Regions from separate parts of the Homo sapiens genome. Here region 1 is linked to region 2. The links are contacts of gene promoters, found by promoter capture Hi-C in blood cells and fetal thymus (Javierre and others, 2016). All regions are on one chromosome and are shown on one strand. Each heading gives the region's core, a stretch centred on a gene start or on the middle of the fragment in contact. The rest is flanking DNA. Distances are from core to core; before and after follow the strand shown. Region 1 has its middle 13 kb from the start of RPL22L1. Region 2 holds the start of PDCD10 (programmed cell death 10).

What was found. Contacts are between HindIII fragments. The CHiCAGO score rates a contact against its expected background, and 5 or more counts as called.
Region 1: a fragment that was not itself captured here is called in contact with the fragment with the promoter of PDCD10 in region 2 in 1 of 17 cell types (non-activated CD4 T cells); the score reaches 10.4 in non-activated CD4 T cells.

The regions. Positions count from the first base shown.
Region 1 is chr3:170,855,358-170,858,882 of GRCh38, forward strand. No RefSeq gene overlaps it. Among named protein-coding and RNA genes, the nearest start is that of RPL22L1, 13 kb to the right of the region's middle. The HindIII fragment of the contact is 1,328 bases long and covers 1,026-2,353 here.
Region 2 is chr3:167,733,193-167,736,615 of GRCh38, forward strand. PDCD10 (programmed cell death 10) reads right to left here and starts at 1,700. Exons shown (of 9, transcript NM_007217.4): 1 at 1,470-1,700; 2 at 1,022-1,158. SERPINI1 (serpin family I member 1) reads left to right here and starts at 2,529. Exons shown (of 9, transcript NM_001122752.2): 1 at 2,529-2,631. RefSeq lists a silencer at 1,332-1,461 and an enhancer at 1,512-1,951. The HindIII fragment of the contact is 6,113 bases long and covers 1-2,804 here.

The sequences.
Region 1 (3,525 bases), core at 440-2,939, 3.1 Mb after region 2:
CAGGTGTGGTGGTGTGGGCCTGTAATCCCAGCTACTCAGGAGGCTGAGGCAGGAGAATCGCTTGAACCTGGGAGGCGGAAGTTGCAGTGAGCCGAGATTGCGCCACTGCACCCCAGCCTGGCGACACAGCAAGACTCCGTCTCAAAAAAAAAAAAAAAAAAAAAAAAAAAAAGGTATATCCAATATTATGAGTTTATAGTGGGAAAATTATCCCAAAAATCTTACTTTGTTTTGTTTCAGAATAGAAAGCCCCAAAATACCTTGGTTGGTGGGGATATTTATGCATCAGTTATATCACAGGGTGGCAATTGGAACTGGGAACAAGGAACATGAGAAATATCTGTGTTTATCAAAAGGAAGCAGGTGTTACTAAAGCCCGAGAAATGCTGACCTATTTTTAACCACTTCTTTATATACAGAAGGGGAAACTGAGGCCCAGAGGGTGAAGAGATGTGTCCAAGGTCACAAAGCTAGTAGGCAACAGAGAGGCAGGATGTGTGACATGGCCCCGTGTGTGGGAGGAGCACTGGGTGAGGAGTGAGAGGTGGGTGCCATGGTGTGACCATGGGCAAGCCAGTAAACCTGAGACCTGGTTTTTTCATCTGAAAAATGGGAAGATAATATTGTGCCACAGAGGGCTGTTAAGGGATCAAAAGAAAAGAGAAAGCCATTTGTAAATGCAACACATTGTTTAAAACTGGCCTTCCTGGCATTTTAATCATCCAGCTTGTAAAAGAGCACACACTGAAGCTATATATCTAGACTCCAGTCCCTTCAGCATGACCACATACAAGGGTTTCCAGACAGTAAGTAGGAAAACCTATGCTAAGCAAAACTTCCTGGGAACTTTTTCATCAGGGGTAATGGTATAGGTGGGTAGTCACATGGGAAAAAGGTATAATTGGATCCACTTCTCAAATTGTAAACCAGGATAAATTCCAAATAGAATAGAGACCTACATTTTTTTAAGATGAAAATATGTAAGTACTAGCAGAAAACATAAATGAATTCTTGATAACGGGGAAAGCTTTTCTAACCATGGCAATAAGAAAAAAGTTAATTGATTTAATTACATAAAAATAAAAATAATGCTTCTATAGCAACAACTACAACAAAACAAAATGAAAACTAGTAATAAAACAAAAGAAAAATAGCAGCTGGGTATGGTGGCTCACACCTGCAATAATAGCACTTTGGGAGGCTCAGGCAGGAGGATTGTTTGAACTCAGGAATTCAAGACCAGCCTGAGCAATATAGCAAGACCCCATCTCTACCCAAATTTTTTAAAAAATGAGCCAGGTAGTGGTGTGTGCCTGTAGTCTCAGCTACTCAGGAGACTGAGGTGGGAGGATGGCTTGAATCTACGAAGTCAAGGACGCAGTGAGCCATGATCCAGCCTAGGCAACAGAGCAAGGGCTTGTCTCAAAAAAAAGTTAAAAAACAAAAATACCATAAGTAGGGGAAAAAGACAAATGAGAAGCTGAAAAAAGAAATTGTAATTTACATCACACACAAGGAGTTAATAGCCTTAACATAGAGGGAGCTTCTAAAAGTAAAAAATTAAAAATAAAAACAAGAATTCCACAGATATATATTAGAGATATAAACAGGCAGCTCACAGAGAAAGATATGCAAATGACCCTTATTGACATTCAACCTCACTCACAAATACAATGCAAAGGAAAATTACCCTGAAAACCAGGTCTCACCTGTCAGTTAAGCCTCAAATTGGACAAGGTTATCTCTTGGTGTGTCTACAGGAAAACAGATTTCACAGATTGCTGGTGGGAAGGCTAGTGGGAGAGCAAAATGCTACAACCCCTGTAAAGGGAAATTCAGCAATATCTAGAAATTACACATTCATTTATCTTTTGACCTGTAAGTCTCAGGTTTACAACTCCTCTCTAGGGGCTGGGCACGGTGGCTCATACCTGTAATCCCAGCACTTTGGGAGGCCAAGGCGGGTGGATCACAGGTTCAGGAGTTCGAGGCCAGCCTGGCCAATATAGTGAAACCCCTTCTCTACTAAAAATACAAAAATTAGCCGGGTGTGGTGGCAGGAGCTGGTAGTCCCAGCTACCCAGGAGGCTGAGGCAGGAGAATTGCTTGAACCCAGGAGGCAGAGGTTGCAGTGAACTGAGATTGTACCACTGCACTCCAGCCTGGGTAACAGAGCGAGACTCTGTCTCAAAAAAAAAAAAAAGACAGAGAAACTAGACTTTTCTAAATATACTTTGTTTTGTAGATTGGACTTTAGAATCCTGTAAATATTTTACAGAATTATAAAAAACAAAGTGGGCTTAAGCAAACTTTTTAATCAAAAGCAAAATGAAACAAATGACTCTGTGTATCAAGCTTGTTCTACGCCCACACAGAGATGAATCATTTCTAGTGACTTTAAAACACGAAACTTTGTTCATTTCTAGTGGGATATACCATAAGGACAAAAAGAACTGCAAAACAATCTTAAGCTGTAAAGTCATTATATTATAGGTAGTTTTGTTGGTATTATTTTATTGAAACTATTATGTGTATATTGTGAGATAAAGCAAATGAGCATTTGTGTTGGTGTCATTGAGAACTGGAACTTTCAGCATGGGAAAAAAGAGATATGGTCATACAATTGATGAAATAAAAACTCTTTTATCCTGATTTTGAATTGGAAGCATCAGAATAAACATATCATTTCCTCTTAAGAACAAAAATGTATTCCTTCACTCTGTCCACTCAAAAGGCCTAGAAACAAACACCACCCCAGTAATGACAAGCATCTCCAGCACCTAGAAAATAGTCCAGAGCTCCTTGTAGAAATGGATGACTCCTGGCCAGGCACACTGGCTGACCCCTGTAATCCCAGCACTTTGGGAGGCCAAGGTAGGAGGATCACTTGAAGTCAGGAGTTCAAGCCCAGCCTGGCCAACATGGCGAAACCACGTCTCTACTAAAAATACAAAAGTTAGCCAGGCATGGTGGCACATGCCTGTAGTCCCAGATACTCAGGAGGCTGAGGCAGGAGAATCACTTGAACCTGGGAGGCGGAGGTTGCAGTGAGCCAAGATCGCGCCACTGCACTTAGCCTGGGTGATAGAGCAAGACTCTGTCTCAAAAAAACAAGCAAACAACAACAACAAAAAAACGGATGACTCCAGATCTGAGGCAGGAAATTTGGAAGAGCCTAGCACATCCTATTATACCAGAAACCAAATAAGCAATAAAATCCAAATAAGATCATGCCAAAAGGATACAAGAGTCAACCTGAAGAGGCTCCTATTGGCTCAGTATGAGACCATTTGCATATTAGTAAGTGTAACTACCAAAACTAATAAAACAAAAGAACTGCCAGACTGCCCGAAGAAACCTACAAAGGGGCCTCTTATAGTGACTTCAGTTTTATGGGATAATTGTAATGCTTCCAAAGCTGTTGTGCTCCAAAGTCTAGCCACGGGTATTGCTATTGATTGGGCTCCAAAAGGGCATTATTCGCAAGATTGCTCCGGCAAAAATACCTCATGCTCAGAGTTTATT
Region 2 (3,423 bases), core at 450-2,949:
CAGTAAGCTATGATTTATTACATGTTAAGAGTAAGCCATGATTTATTACATGCTAACCTGTATGGATATAAAGTTATCACAAATAAATTCTGCCATCAATGAACATACTCTAACAATTCTATTAAAAACTTATCCAATAATAATAGTCATGAGCTATAACTGGTCATAATCATTATAGAGGATAAGACTTGCATAAAGGCACTACTTTCTGCAAGATATGAACTATACGTGTACTGTTTTTTCATTCTTCAATGTAAAGTAAGAATGAATTGAAAGTCACAGTTGATGCTAAGAAAAATAAAAATATGCAAGAGCCCAATTTTATTATTTGCAGACACACACACAAATACAGCCCAGAGTCAAGAAAATGGGGGAAAAGTAAAGTCTCAAAAAAGACGATGTTACCTCCAAGAAATGCAAAATACCTTCTTTTCTAGTAATGGGCACACTAAACTCTCCTAACGCTACATTATTTGAAAAAAGTGTAGTTTTGTGAAAGAATTCCAATCCCACTATTATCAGTTTTACAAAATGAGAGTAAAAACAGTCCTAAGGTAGAAAAAGAAAAGAATATTCTTCTAAGGATGGGATATATTGTTTAACTGTTGTTCTCCCATCCTATTACCTACCCGTAAAAATGAACTGTGAGAGTAGAGTCTATCATTTAATACACCCCTAAAAAAAGGGGAAAAATCTGTAAAAGTTGAAACTGGCCATTTTTATTTTTTCCAAAAGGATCTTTCCTTTATTGAGGAATTTCACTCCGGTTCAAGAAACAACTTTTTATCTCACAATGGCTTCTTAGATATACTATATAAAATACATTTACTTTGTAACTTCCTCCACCCTTTTCAAAAAGCACAACCAACGTCCCTACTCTAAAGCTGGACTCGAACCGAACTAGATTCAGAAAGTCTGTCCCTACGTGTGTGACCTTGGGCACGTCATATAATCCCTCGGTTTCCTCATCAGCATCCCAAAATGAAAGCGCTCTGAAAGCAGTAAAGGAGTAAAAACATACCTTAGGTATGACACCTAAGAGGGTCAAGTCTTTCTGTTTAAGGCAAAATTATCTCCTTAGAGGGCCACATCATTAAACTGGAACTGAATCCGTAGACCCCAACATTTGTCTCTTCCTTCTTCCAGTGCTCCTCTTCCCTCAAAGGGCATAACCCGAGTCACCCCCAAGAGCCGACTCCCAAGCACCCTTTCCTTCCTCCTCCCTTTTCTCTTACTTACAAAGCAGGGGGAAAACAGCAGCCTCACCTCTCGGTCCGAAGCCACACCTTCAAAGGACCCCACCCCAGGCACATCCGCCCTGTCCCCTCTCCCGGGGCACCAGGGGCCAACCTCGCCCTTCCCCTCCCGCCCCCACCTAGAGGAGACTTCCTGGAGGCGTTCGGGCCCAAGCCGGCAGGCGGCATTTACAAACCCGCTTTACGCCACTCGCGTAGGGTAACCTCGCTTACGCCCGTAGGGCCCCGCTCTCAGCCCCGTCCGCTCCGCCTGCCAGAACCAAGCCCAAGTGCCTCAGCCATGGCCCCTGCGTGACCCTAGACCTCTTCTGCTCGGTGCAGAGCTACGGGGACTGGGACAGAACAGCTACACCTTACCAGCAACTGAGGCACTGACTTCACTTCCCACCTTGCAGCCCTCTTCAACTCCCGGATCAATTCACTCCGGCGACGCCGGAAGGACCCAAGAGGAACCAGGCGTTGTCCGGAATCCTGCCCAGCCGGAGTCGTGCAGAGGCTTATGGGGACTCGTAGTCCCGCTCGCCGGCGTTGTCCGCAATTCCTGCAATCGGAAGACTACACTTCCCGGCAGGCCATGCGGGGGATCCTGAGGCGATGGGTGGTGACACTTCTAGCCAATAGTAGGAGAATTCCCTGCCTTTGCGGGAGGAGGTGAGATGAAGAGAGATGGTGCACGGAAAGGAGAGGAAGGGCGGGGCAAGCCCTCACCTGCGCCAATCAGGGTGCGGAGTAGGCCCCGCAGGCGCCTCACCCATTGAGGGGGCGGGCTGACAGAGCAGAGGAAGGAAGGGGGTGAGGGGCCTGTGGTGGGGATCCTGGGGCTGTCGGGCTGAGTATGCCGTGTGGGTGGAGAGGAAGCCTCGGGGAAATCGCCCAGGTGAAGGGAGGGCTTGGTGTGGGGACTTGCACTGGGCAGAGGGGCAGCTTCCCTGAGAGCAGCTAAGCCCCAGGCACACCGGGCATCCGGACACACAGGTCGGGGAAGGATAGGCTGAGCCGGGGCTCCCAGCAGAGACGCCTGGGTGGGGCAGGAGGCCGCTCCAGGTGTGAGCCACAGAGGAGGGGAGAGGGACCCCCACGGGAGTGGAAGTGGCAGAGCAGCTGCAGAAGTGCAGGGAGCGGAAAGGTACCAGGGCAGCTGCTTTCCGCTGCCTCCGGTCCGGGCAGCTGCAGAAACAGCAGGGGGAGGAGCAACAGCTGCCAAATTCGCCAACTAGAGGAGGGAGAGGCGGAGCTTGGGTCCCTGTAGAAGCCAGAGGCGCAGTCTGGACTGTAGTTTCCCGGGAGAGACGAAAGCAGGAACGAGAGCGGAGCGGAGCACAGTCCGCCGAGCACAAGCTCCAGCATCCCGTCAGGGGTTGCAGGTGTGTGGGAGGTAAGCGTGGGTCCTTCTTCGGGGCGTCTGCACTGCCCTGGAGAAAACGTCTTCCAATAGGAATTACATCAAGACACAGCTAAAAGAGTCCGCGTTGGGTTAGGAAACCGGTGCAAAACCTCTCGGGTGAAAGATTTACATTTTTCGACTTTAAGGGCAAAAAAGCAAAAGGAAGCTTGACTCTGGGTATAAAGGGCGTGGTTAGTGTTTTTGGTTTGAGTTGCACCAGTAAAACTGTTCTGGGAGATCTGAAGATTGAGAAAAATCCTGCTAATTGAGGACGAGGTGGATGTTATCTGGTGGATGTTATAGGTGCGTAGCCTATAAAAAGCAAAAATTTTGCTATTGATATAGAATAACTTCTGAACTATTTCACTAGGAAAATAACTTTGCATTCTTCTTCAGTGTCTACCCTTTACGTTGGTTTATCAGATTGTCCTGCTACCGACCTGTTATCCAGGGTGGTTATTTTGCAGTTTCCTAGAATTGCAAGAAATCCGTATTAAAGAAGCAAGTGCAGGCAGGAATAGTCAGGATAGGATGGGCTCTGACTTAATCTATCAAAAGTATAACTTTTGCCAGCAATAATGTAAAAATGAATTTTAATGAATGGATAGTTAGCTTTCTTCCCAGTGGCTCTGGAATATTGGAACAAAGACCTGGATTCAGCCTACAATGGAAACATATGGTGTACCTCACTGCTGCTCGTTAGTTTCTCATTTGTGTCCGATAATATGTGTACATTTTAAAAACGAGTACATGGAAAGCTGTGTGGGAATCTTTTCTCTGGGT